Regions from separate parts of the Homo sapiens genome. Here regions 2 and 3 are each linked to region 1. Evidence: promoter capture Hi-C in 16 types of primary human blood cells and fetal thymus (Javierre and others, 2016). All regions are on one chromosome and are shown on one strand. Each heading gives the region's core, a stretch centred on a gene start or on the middle of the fragment in contact. The rest is flanking DNA. Distances are from core to core; before and after follow the strand shown.

What was found. Contacts are between HindIII fragments. The CHiCAGO score rates a contact against its expected background, and 5 or more counts as called.
Region 2: a contact is called between a fragment that was not itself captured here and the fragment with the promoter of NHEJ1 in region 1, in 12 of 17 cell types (M1 macrophages, erythroblasts, total CD8 T cells and 9 more). The highest score is 7.5, in M1 macrophages.
Region 3: a contact is called between the fragment with the promoter of CFAP65-AS1 here and the fragment with the promoter of NHEJ1 in region 1, in 1 of 17 cell types (M2 macrophages). The highest score is 7.1, in M2 macrophages.

The regions. Positions count from the first base shown.
Region 1 is chr2:219,158,979-219,163,067 of GRCh38, reverse strand. It overlaps NHEJ1 (non-homologous end joining factor 1), which reads left to right and starts at 2,253. Exons shown (of 8, transcript NM_024782.3): 1 at 2,253-2,348. It overlaps SLC23A3 (solute carrier family 23 member 3), which reads left to right. Exons shown (of 12, transcript NM_001144889.2): 11 at 674-769; 12 at 864-1,603. The coding sequence ends at 1,159. RefSeq lists a silencer at 2,469-2,588. The HindIII fragment of the contact is 12,472 bases long and covers 1-3,018 here.
Region 2 is chr2:219,333,201-219,337,289 of GRCh38, reverse strand. No RefSeq gene overlaps it. Among named protein-coding and RNA genes, the nearest start is that of RESP18, 2.5 kb to the right of the region's middle. RefSeq lists an enhancer at 1,368-2,567. The HindIII fragment of the contact is 2,771 bases long and covers 901-3,671 here.
Region 3 is chr2:218,999,836-219,003,924 of GRCh38, reverse strand. It overlaps CFAP65-AS1 (CFAP65 antisense RNA 1), which reads right to left and starts at 1,710. Exons shown (of 3, transcript NR_046086.1): 1 at 1,625-1,710. CFAP65 (cilia and flagella associated protein 65) reads left to right here. Exons shown (of 35, transcript NM_194302.4): 34 at 653-790; 35 at 904-1,079. The coding sequence ends at 988. MIR375 (microRNA 375) reads left to right here and starts at 2,217; the gene lies at 2,217-2,280. RefSeq lists enhancers at 1,644-1,938, 3,381-4,089. The HindIII fragment of the contact is 13,795 bases long and covers 1-4,089 here.

The DNA of each region.
Region 1 (4,089 bases), core at 1,004-3,503:
TTTTAAACATCTTTGGTGAGAAGAAGGTCATTCCTGATGGAGGAACCATCATTTATGCAAAGACACAGAAGTGGGAAGTCTTAGGATATGTCCTGAGAGCAGTAAATTGCTTAATTTGTCTCACCCAGTTCTCAACTGGGTGATTTTGCCCCCATGGGGACATTTGGCAATGTCTGGAGACATTTTTGGCTGTTACAAATGGAGGAAGAGGGAGTTGTTACTAGGGTTTAGTGGATAGAAAGATGCTGCTAAACATCCTACACTGTACAGGACATCCCCCCTGCACCACCACCCCCAACAAAGAATTATCTGGTCCAAGATGTCAGTAGGACTGAGGTTGAAAAACCCAGGATAGAGCATAGAGGGTAAAAAATGGGAGATGAGGTTGGGACTTAAATATTACGCTTTCTAGAGAAAGGGAACCTGGAATAGTCAAAGCATATATGGAGGGTGTGTGGATGATCAGAACACAGGGTGTTGAGCAGGAATCCTGTGGGAAAGGCCTGGATTTGGAAAGTGGAGAGTAGAAAGACAAAGGGTGAGAGGGATGAAATGACAATTCAGAAAGATCTGTCCTTAGTCCAAGGCTTAGGTTTAGGTCTGGGAGGGTAAGACTCCTGGGCTTGGATATAGGATCAGAGTTCCCTTCCTGCCTGGCCCCAACTCTTCATAGGCTGGAGCCCCTTGGATGTATTACTGCACTCACTGCTGACACAGCCCATCTTCCTGGCTGGACTCTCAGGCTTCCTACTAGAGAACACGATTCCTGGTAAGTTGAGGCTAGGCCCTAGCAGACTGGGGAGTGGCCAGGAAGCCATCCCTCCCTGGGATGGGCAATAGCCTGACAAACCTCTCTTTTGCAGGCACACAGCTTGAGCGAGGCCTAGGTCAAGGGCTACCATCTCCTTTCACTGCCCAAGAGGCTCGAATGCCTCAGAAGCCCAGGGAGAAGGCTGCTCAAGTGTACAGACTTCCTTTCCCCATCCAAAACCTCTGTCCCTGCATCCCCCAGCCTCTCCACTGCCTCTGCCCACTGCCTGAAGACCCTGGGGATGAGGAAGGAGGCTCCTCTGAGCCAGAAGAGATGGCAGACTTGCTGCCTGGCTCAGGGGAGCCATGCCCTGAATCTAGCAGAGAAGGGTTTAGGTCCCAGAAATGACCAGAACGCCTACTTCTGCCCTGGTTAATTTAGCCCTAACTCTCATCTGCTGGAGAGTCAGCTCCCAAACTGTTCTTTCTTGTAGGCAGAGGATATGTGTGTGTGTATTACATGGGACTGTCTAGAGGTTCCATTTCCCAATAGGGTGGGTTGCCTTTCCTTGTCTTAATTAGGCCTAACTGTTCCAGAGCAGAGGCCATGATTTAGTGGACCATGAATGATTGAGATTTTGCCTGTGTACTATCAATGCCACTTGAACCCCAGCATTCACTTTAATACTTACTGAGCATCTCCCATGTGCAAGGTCCTGGAACTACAGGGATAAGACAGGGTCCATGCCGTCTCAAGGCATTTACGGTTTAAAAAGACCTTTGTAATTACTAACGAAAATGCAAAGCAGAAAGCAGTCTGTAATAAAGATTAAAATAATGCCGTGGGAGCAAAGAGGAAGGGATAATGAATTCTGATTGGGGACAGTGGGAAAGGCTTTATGCAAGAAGCAATGAGGATGGCCTTGACAAATGAGGATTTTTGGTTTTGGAAAATGGATGCAGAGAAGTTTTCAGGTTCGGGGTCCAGCTTGAGCAAAGCCATGGGTTGTACAAAGTCCAAGATAGGTGAGGGGTTTCAAATTTCTCAGTAGTGAGGGAGTATAAGTACGGGGATGATGGAGAAATGAAGCAGGAGAGGTAAAGGATGAGGTCGGACTATGGGACTTATGCCTGGGAGACTCCTTCCTTCAACAACTCTAGTGCTGGTGGAGGACCTGAGAGATCATCTACAGAAGTTCAATCCCTTATTTTGTTAAAAAGAGACCGGATAGGTAGGGGAGGGAAGAGAAGTGACTCAAGTTTGACAAATCCAAACCTGGGCTCCCCTCTCCTGCGCCTCGCCCGCTATTCTTTCCACTCGGCCAGCGTGACTCCAAGACGCGCCACTACCCTTCTACTAGCCGGCTGCCCGGCCTCTCCTCCACTTACCCTGGCCACTGGGGCGCTCCTCTCATCAGTGTCCCAGGCCCAGAAGCCCCGCCCACGCCAGGCATAGGCCCCGCCCCTGTATCCCAAGACCCTGCCTCCTCTTGCGGTGGGGGGAAAGCGGCCTCTTACTCTAGGCCTTTCGGTTTGCGCGAGCGGGCAGGAAAGCGTGCGTGCGGCTAAGAGAGTGGGCGCTCTCGCGGCCGCTGACGGTAGGTGGAATCGCGTTCGAGTCCGGGCAGGAGCAAGCCAGCGAGGGGCTGCTCAGACGCTGCGGGTTGGCCCTGGCGCTGGCCTTTTCTCCCTGGAGGGAGCGCGCGCTGCCGGGGTCCAGGGCAGGCCTCCGGGGGAGGGGTGGGCGGGGCCGCGCGTGCGCAGTCCGCTGGCTGCTGCCCGGCGTGGATGGTAGGGCTCGAGTGAAGGTACTCGTTGGTCGCCTGTTTGGTGCGACGAAGCCGCTGGTGGCCGGCTTTGTTGCCCCTTGAAGCCGCGCCCCAGTGCAGCCAGTGCTGTAGAAATGGGAAGGCGGACAGCGAAGGCTGTTATAGCTGGGGCGGGTGGAAGCGGGACGCCTGGCGGCTCCTGGGGTGGGGCTATGGTTGTGGTGGGACCTAGGGTTCGCGCTGTCCCAGGGGGACCGGGCGGGGCCCAGCCGGGATGCTCTCTGGGCCTCTACTGCCCTCTGCAGGGCGTCGGAGGAACTGCCCAGAGGGGTCACTGCTGAGGAGCGGACTCGGTGCAGATAAAGGTTCTCAAGGGACCCCTCCGCCGGGATGCCGCTCAGCGCCCCTCCACTCAAGAGAAATAAACCCGTGAATCTCGTTAATGTGAATGTTAGAGGCAGCCTTGAAGGAAAAAAGAAAAGGATGAAGTGTAGAAGCTTCGGACGCAGAACGGGACGCGTGTGGTGGGAGCAGGCAGCCGGGGTCTGGTGCCCAATGTGTCAGGCCTTTTTATAGGGCCCGTTACTCCTGGCCACATTTTAAACTCCTCCCCCTTTACCCAACAGACAAACAAAACCCATCAATTTGAGGGTTCTGAGCTTCCGGGCTTTCCGAAGGAATGGGCTAGAATAGTAAACCCAATTTTGGCAACTGTTAAGAGTACACTGGGGAGTGCCTATAAGGGAGATGAAAGTGGCGACTTTATTCGCGTTTGTGACCTTTGGCATTGTGGAGCTCTTGTCCGGCTAGGACTAGCTTAATCATCCCATGACCACTTCTGTCCCCATAAGAGCAGCATGTGGGAAATGTGACGGAAACACCATCCTCCAAACACAAGGCTTTGAGGATGCCATAAAGAAAGATCACCACGTATATGTATATATATGCATATATATATATGCATATATATATGCATATATATATGCATATATATATGCATATATATATATGCATATATATATGCATATATATATAAAGTTATGTCACAAGTCACAAGGGCACACTTCAAAAGCTAGGGGAAATGACTGTGTTAATCAGACTTAATAAGGAATTTCATTATTTACATTCTAAATTTTTCCTTCCTGGTACTTCTGTTCATTTTATATTTGTAGACTGGAATAATGAAGGAAATTGACATATTTTTTTCTCCCCCACAGGAAAAACAATCACATTCTCTGTCAAGCAGCCGTAGTTCTGATTGTCTACTAGGTTAAGCCTACTACTTTAGCTGCTGAGATAGAAAAGTTGTTTTGCAGGGGTTCCAGGCTGGGCATGTTGTCATTGGTGGCAGTGCACTGGAGTGGGAATGTGGAGGATGAGTTAAGTGGAAGTTAATTCAGTCTTTACCTCTGTGATGTGCTCTGCCTTGTATTCATGATTTCCTAGTCATTCTGGTTTTTGTTGAAATGAAATTTAGGTCTTTTCTGTTGCTCCTGGACACAGGTTCTTAGCTCTTTTTTGTGTCATCGATCCCTGAGAGTTTGATGATAGCTGTAGACCTCTTCCCCCT
Region 2 (4,089 bases), core at 1,037-3,536, 170 kb before region 1:
CCTGAGTAGCTGGGACTACAGGCACACACCACCACACCCAGCTAATTTTTGTATTTTCTGTAGAGACAGGGTTTCGCCATGTTTCCAGGCTGGAATTTTTTTAATTTTTAGTAGAGACGAGGTCTTGCTATGTTTCCCAGGCTAGTCTCCAACTCCTGAGCTCAAGTGATTCTCCTACTTCAGCCTCTCAAAGTACTGGGATTACAGGTGTGAGCCACTGTACCCAACCTTATTATTTATTTATTTATTTATTGAGACAGGGTCTCACTCTGTTGCCTAGGCTGGAATGCAGTAGTGCGATCATGGCTCACTGCAGCCTTGACCTCCCTGGGCTCAGATAATCCTCCTTCCTCAGCCTCCTAAGTAGGACTACATGTGTGTGACACCATGCCTGGCTAATTTTTTGTTTTTGTGTTTTTGTTTTTTGGGTTTTTTTTGGTAGAGACAGGGTTTTGCCATGTTGCCCAGGCTGGAATTTTTGCTTTTAACCAAACATATTTTACATAACTCACAAGGGGAAGAATAGTCTATGATATTTATTCAGACACTTGTCATTTCTGTTCCTCTTCTTCATTCCTGATGTTTCTACTAGCAATTAATTATCTTAGTTTTTCTTCATCTGAGAATATCCTTATTTCACTTTCATTCTTAAAGTATATTTTTGCTGGATATAGAATCCTCAGTTGGCAGCTCATTTCTCTCACAACTTTAAAGATGTTATTTCACTTCCTTCTGGCCCACATGGTTTATAATGAAAAATTCAGTTTTCTGAATCCCATTGTTCTTTAGTCGTGTGTTGTTTAAGATTTTTTTCTTTGTTTCAGTGTTTAGAATTTTTGATTATAATGTGTCAAGAGTATAGACTTCTTTGAGTTTATTCTATTTGGCATTCCTTAAGCTTCTTTAATCTTTAGGCTTATGTCTTTTCACACATTTGGGAATTTTTCAGAAATTATTTCTTCAAAATTTTTGTGTGTACTGCACTTTATCCTCTTAATCTGGAATTCCAATGACATTAATTTTGGACTTTTGATATTGCCCTACAGGTCCCTGAAGTTCTGTTAACTTTTTTTTTCCCAATGTTTTTTCTCTCTCTTGTTCTGATTGGATTATTTCTGTTGACCCATCTTCAAGTTGACTGACTCTTCTGTCATTTCTATCCCGCTTGGAGCTCATCCAGTGAGTTTTTATTTTAGTTATTATATTTTTTCATTTCTCAAATGGCACTTTAGAAAAACAAACAGAACAACCAGTGATAGGAGATGGGATTGGAGAAATAAGTCCAAAATTGCCTAGACAGAGCTCTGTAGGCAACAGTAGAGCGTCCAGATCTTATGCAAAGTACAGAGGAAAAATCACTGGGGATTTTAAGGAAGGGAATAGAATTATGTGATATATAATTTTAAAAGGCTACTTGAGAATATATTGATAGGGGAAAGAGTGGAATCAATAGATCAGTTAGGAAGTGTTGTCTTGGTCCAAGAAAGACTGTGGTGGCCTGGGCGAGGCAATCACAGGAGCCTAGCACCTCTATCTGGCCCTGCACTGCCCCAACAGGCAGCCTGAACCTCAGGGGGCTCTAGATCCTTATGCTTCCAAGGAAACTGCTTCTTGATTCCTGTCACCATGGCAGCTACACTTCTCCTACCTGGATTGGTCGCTGGAGTGGCATCATCAGCACTAAATGACTGATCCTCACAATAAGAACTGGTTGTCATGGTGCTACCAATTATGCAAACAAGAATCTGCCTTTCTTCTGCAGGCTCAGCGTCCTTGACTAGCTCTGTACCTAAGGGAAAATCAGGGAGAGAGAGAAGATCATGACGTCGGAGCCAAGGGGAGGCTAGCTGTCAGGTGGTTGCTGAGTCACTATTCCTCAAGACTTGCCCAAGTCAAGACTGCAACTAGAGGCCCTTATATAGTGGGGTGAGGGGAGCTTACACTGTGGAGGGGGAGCCCCTGGCACATATACACACAAATTCCAAATCCGATTTTCCTCCCATTTTAGAGCTTCTTTGAACTGTTTCCTTCTCTGAGCAAAACTTTGTCACAGATTGAGGCCTTCCTCCTCTCCCAGCCCCATTACCCTGCAGAGAGGCAGTTTTAGGACAACTTGCTACTGGATTTTTTAAAGTGAGTTTTCATGAAAATTCTTTAAGCAGGCTTGTCTGCAAGTAAGACAGTGGGCCTCAGCCAGAGCTTCTGAATTAAAATATGTAAAGCCAGAACAGAGAGGACATTTGGGGTGGGGATTGAAATAGTAAAACTCCTTGGTACACATGGAGCCTAGGCTTCTGATCTCCTTCTCCTTCCGGACATCATTTGTAACATGAATGTAAGACAGAGTAGGACCACAGCTGAATTACAATCTTCCTTCGCCCACTCTCCCCAGCTACACTTTATGGTAGTCTTTCTTTCTTCTTGGGAAAGAAAGTTCCTTCCTACGAACCCCTGGTTCAATAGGCCTGAAAACCTGCTAAGTCTTCTGAGGGTATTACTCTTAGCATTAGAATCCCTTCCAATGAACAGTAAAAAGAAGAGCAGCATCAATGCTCCTGTACATTTATCATTTTGATAGCCATTCTCCTGGTGGTTTAAAATCTTAAAATACAGAGAGGAGCACACTCACCTTTGTTCAGCCGACCCAAAGACCAATATTTCCCTTTTTCCAGGAGCATTATACTTCACAAAGCAGGTTCACGTTCATTTGCTCTTAGGCCTCAAATTATTGCTATAAATTTATTTTAAAATAGCATGTCCAGTACATAATCAGTGACAACCAGATAAACCTCTAGTTTTTGGCGTGACAAGACAGAAACTTGTGTCGGATCCTCCTAACATTGGGTATATACTCTAGGCAAAATATAAAAATAACTGTATGAAAGCATGGAGACTGATCAAGAGTTAGAAACCTACAGGGAGTATAGTCCTCAAAAAAAGGAAGTCCACCAAGTGACTTATACATGTATAGGCTTTTCCTCTGAAGATACTTCAGAGTTCACTGCAGTACACAGGGAAACAGCTCTGTCAGCAACTGGCAGTCTTACTAAGGAAACAGCTTTTGGAGTACAGAGATGCCAGAGCATCTGGAAATTGAGGAAGAAATTTAGAAAATGAATAAATTACAGAGAGAGGAACTCAAAATCTGCATCCTAACTCCCCTCCAATTCTTAGCTATCTTCTAAATGGCACTTGCGCAGGGTGAGATTTCAAGGAACCTAGTGAAAAAGTCAAATATCTGAACAGAGATTTTGGCAGCTGTCACAGTGTTAGGGTGACTGAGTTTGGAGTTCAGGACCCGTAAAATAGAGAGTTTTGGTAAATGACTTTGGGTTATGTTGAAATCCAAAAAGGACCACACCTTAGCCATAAGCACCATATCCCAGGACTAAGAGATACAGGCTAGAATTGAGAATAGGATGAAGTACTCCTTCCCTAACCAGACTGCCACAGGATCAAGACTTTTTACCAAAAATTTAATTGCCTGCCAGAACAAACTCAAACTATTACCCTTTAAAGATAATAATATAATTCAGATCCTTTGTAATGTATCAACCCCAAATGTTCACTATACAAACCCTTAGGTTTAAGTAATCCACTATCTCGACCTCCCAAAGTGCTGAGATTACAAGCATGAGCCACCATGCCCAGTTTAATAAATGTTTTAAGCTTAATGAAAAAAAATTTAAATGCCAGTCTAAGAGTTAGAAAGCTCACAAACTAGCTTGTAAGTACACAAGAGTGAAAGCAAGAGGTCAGTTAGCTAGTTAGTTACTACAACAACTCAATTTAAAAGAGTACAGTGTCCAAGGCCTGGCATGGTGGCTCATGCCAGTAATGCCAACACTTTGGGGGGCCAAGGTGGGAGGATTGCTTGAGCCTAGGAGTTTGAGATCAGCCTGGGAAACATGGCAAAACCCTGTCTCTACAAAAATAAATAAATAAATAAATAAAATTGGCTGGGCATGGTAGTGTGCACCTGTAGTCCCAGCTACTCTGGAGCCTGAGGTTGAGTAGAGGTCGAGCGGAGGTTGTGGTGATCTGAAATTGCAAGACTGTCTCAAAAAAAAAAAAAAAAAAAAGTACAGT
Region 3 (4,089 bases), core at 461-2,960, 160 kb after region 1:
GGAGGGAGGCGAAGTGCAGAAGGTTCCTAGGAGGCAGTGGGATGCCAAGGATGGCTGCTGCCTGTATGCACATCTCATCCTAATTCAGTGCTTAGTGAGGTCATGTTGGTAGCTTAAGGCCTCTGTGGGAGTATCCGCCCGGCACCAACACTGAACTTTATTCTTTTTTCTCTAAGAACTAGTTGTTGACATTTACCAACTTACCAGGAGAATTGTTATAGTCTGCAAAGTCTTGTAAATGGGCTTCTAGAGCCAGAAAAGGACCACCTGTCTTGCAGGTGGGACTTCCCGCCGGGGCTGCCCTACAGATGATTTATGTCATTGTAGGGATTCCCTAGGCCCCACCCAGTCCCTTCTGCGCCCTCTCATCACTTCCCTACCTTTCTCTAAACTTGGCCCTGAGATGCCTACTACATCGCCTGGGTTTGAATCCCACCCCTTAAACCAGCAGCATATTTGGCAACTTGGAATCTTTTAGCCACACTTGGAACGTCCGTAACATTGAAACAAGAATGCCCCATAGTGTAGTGGATGAGGGGAGTCGAATGGGAATCTCCGTAGAGCTCGCGGCACAATGTACCGCACGGACAGGCGAGCGAGGAGGCGCGCGGGCACTGCGGCCGCCCTCATGCTAGCCCCCGCCCCCTCGCAGGCTCCCGGCCTTCGCCAACCTGCAGGAGGCGCTGCTGGAGAACATGATCCAGAACATCCTGGTGGAGGCGAGCCGCGGGGAGGTGGTACTCACCTCGCGGCCACGCGTCATCGCCCTGCCGCCGTTCTGCGTGCCCAGGTAAGGGCGCCGGGACCAGCGGCCGCGCAGACCGCGCGAGAGGGGCCACGGGGGCAGCCAGGCTCTGCCCGAAGCCTCGCCCCCACGCCTACCTGGGACTTTTTGTCTTCCAGGAGTCTGACCCCGGACACGCTGCTGCCGACGCAGCAAGCAGAGGTACTCCACCCGGTGGTGCCACTTCCTACCGACCTTCCGTAAATGCCCGCGCCCAGCCTCTCCGACATGCCGCTAGGGGTCACGCCTGGCCCCCTCTCCACCGCCAGTAAAAGCATCTAGTCTTTTTTCTGTATCTACCTTGACTTTATTTCCCCGACGAGGGGGAACGCGCGCGCGAGCTCTGAGAGGGAAGGATGGCAGGGAGCAGCCCGGGCGGACTGCAGAGGCGCGGCGGGAACTTAGGGCCCGGGAGGATGCACCTCTCCGCCCACACTGCAGCTGGACTGAGACCTGGCCGCTAGCTGCCGGCCGCTGGACCGGGTCTGGCCAGTGGAGGGCGCTCCGGACGGGGCCTGGCTGGCCTTTGCCCCAGCGCACCTTGGTGCACAGTAACTGAGTGCCAGGCCTGGCCAGCGAAGCAGGTGTCCACTGGGCAGGGCGGCCACCCCTCACCTTTCCGCGCCGCGCCTGCTCGGAGGCTTAGCACCCCCAGGGCCAGCCCCTTAGCATTTGCCGAGCTCCGAGTGCCCAAGAGGCTGGGGAGGAAGAACTGAGGCACGCCGCGGAGGGCCAGGAACTAGGCTGGGGCGGGTCGAGGTCACCACTGGATTTCGGGCCACAGACCCTGCTAAGCGACTCCCACTGTGAATCAGTCCTCAGACGAGGATGGATACCCACCTCTCGGTTCCTCCTAACCCCCGCCCGGGAGCTTCTGTCCTCTGCTTCTCGGCTCCTCCCTCCCAGAGGCAGGTGGGTGGAAAAGTGACATCTGGTGTTGTTCCAGAGGCGCCCAGGGTCCCCAGCACCCTCCCCTCCGCCCCCGCCACCAAGGCCTCGGAGAAGCTCCGGTCTCAGAGCCCGGGCGGGGGAGGGGGGAGCGCTCCGCCTCCATGAGTCAATATTTGCCCCGAGCAAACGGGCGCCTGGACAGGTGTGAGTGTGTGTGTCTGGGGGCGGGGACTGAACAGGCAGTATAAGAGCACACGGAGCCCGGGCTCCGGGACAAGCTCCAAGGCGTGGGCTGGGGACGAAGCCAAGCTAGGCTGGGCCGGGCGGAGGGGCCAGGAAAGCCGGGCGGAGGGTGGCTGGGAAAGGAGGGGCGGGCCAGGTGCGCACCTGCGGTGGCCGCCGCGGCCGCCGACGTGTCAGCCGCAGATGCGTTCAGGTGAGGGCGGAGGCTAGCGGGGCGCTGTGCAGCACTGAGCTCGCGGAAGACCAGGACCAGGAGATCACCGAGGGCGACCGCCAGGCCCCGGGCCCTCCGCTCCCGCCCCGCGACGAGCCCCTCGCACAAACCGGACCTGAGCGTTTTGTTCGTTCGGCTCGCGTGAGGCAGGGGCGGCCTCTCAGCACCAGCCCGGGGGCCGGCCTGATCGCCACGCAGGCACCTGCCGCCGCCACCGCCACCGCCATCTCAACCGTACGGGTGGGAGAGGCTGTGCGCCGCTCCAGGGGAGATCCGGCTCCCATCCGGCCCCACCCGCCCTGCCTTGCCCTGCCCGCAGCTTCTGGGCTGCCAGGCTCCATTCTGCGTCGTAATACGGGCTGAGCCGGCTCCAGCGGGTGGCGAAGGGGGCCGTGGCCCAGAACAGAAACCCTTCTGGAGGTGGAAACCCGGATTCTAGTCCGCCTCTGTCCCCGCGACTTCTATGGCCTTGGGCAAGTCATTTCCCGGCCTCTTGGTTTTCCCATTTGCTCAGTGAACGGTTGGTCTGGCCTCCCGCAGGGGCTAGGCCCTCCCCAGCCTCCTGTCCCGGTTCCTGGGCTCCTGGTCATGCTGGGGAAGATGCAGGCCCTCACGGAGTTGGAGCCAAGGCTGAGGTGTGGAAAATCTGGGCGGGGGAAGCTGAGGGCCACCATGGAGCCTCAAATCCACTCCTCGGATCTCTGTGGTGCTGCTGACATCCTGAGATGTCACTCCCTGACACTCCCTTGGTCCCTCTTTCAGTCTAAAAACGTCTGAGACAGTCAGACTGACTGAAAAGGACAAGCCCCCAGGCACAGCGGTTCACCACCTTCCTCAAACCTCAGAATCCCACATCCTCGCTTCCATCAGCTGGGGTGGGGTAGGTAGGTGGCCCTCAGCTCAGGCAGAGGCAGCCCCGGGAGATGGGAACCAGGGTCAGAAGTCCCTCCAAACTGCATGTTCCTAGAGGTGCTGGATTGTCCCCTCCACCACCACCCGCTCTAGTGCCCCTATGTCACCCAACTACCCAGAGGCCCCAAAGGATCTGCTGAGCCCGAGTCCGTGGCACAGAGAGAGAAGGGGGAGGGGCGAGATGGCGTTGGACAGATCCCAGGCAGGTTTAGGGAGAGGGTGGACTACAGCAGGGCTCTTCGTGGAGCAGCCCCAGGGGCAGGGGAAGGTCCTTGGGTCCTGGGCTAGGGTGTGTGCAGCCCTCTCCTGGCCCCCCTGACCAGGCTCTGTCCTGGGCCAGCCCTTTACTCTGCCTGGCACTGAAAGATTTGCCTGTCAGGGGCCTGGCATGGTCCTGGTGCACCTTCCCTGTGTCTTTGAGGGCTTCCCCTTCCCTCCCCAACCATGTCAGGGGCCAGGATTCCACATCCTGGGTTTGCACAACAAAGAGATCTCTGCTTGGAATGACCCCCTCCCAAACACACACACACACACACACACACACACACACACAGCCTTGAGGGGAGGGTGGTGAGAAGGAGGCAGCCACCCAGTGGGCGGGGATCTTTCCTGGTGACTGAGAATTACTGCCCCTTCACCCCAGGGCCTAATTTCCCCAGTCCCCCACCCACTATCCATCCTAAGACTGCAGTTGCTGGCCATTACCAGGGATCTGGCCTCTCATCCAGGTCCCTCCTCCGCTGCTCCGCTGCCACAGGGCGGGGTCTCCCAGTGCCGGGCAGGCCTGCAGGTGCGGGGCTGCATGGGGAGGGGGGCACTCAGCAGCTGCTGTACGAGGCAGGCCCCCTCCCCCTCCTGCTCAAAGCTGGAGCCTGCTTCCTGTCGTCCCTGTCAGCACCCTGGGTGGGGGAGGGACCAGGTAGTGGGGGAAGTGGAAAAGGGATTGAGCGGTTGGAGTGCAGCAGCTGAGAAACAGCAGAAGAGAAATGGAGAAGGATGAGAAAGAGACCAAGAGCATAGGCTGAAGGAAAGAGGGGTGTGAGAA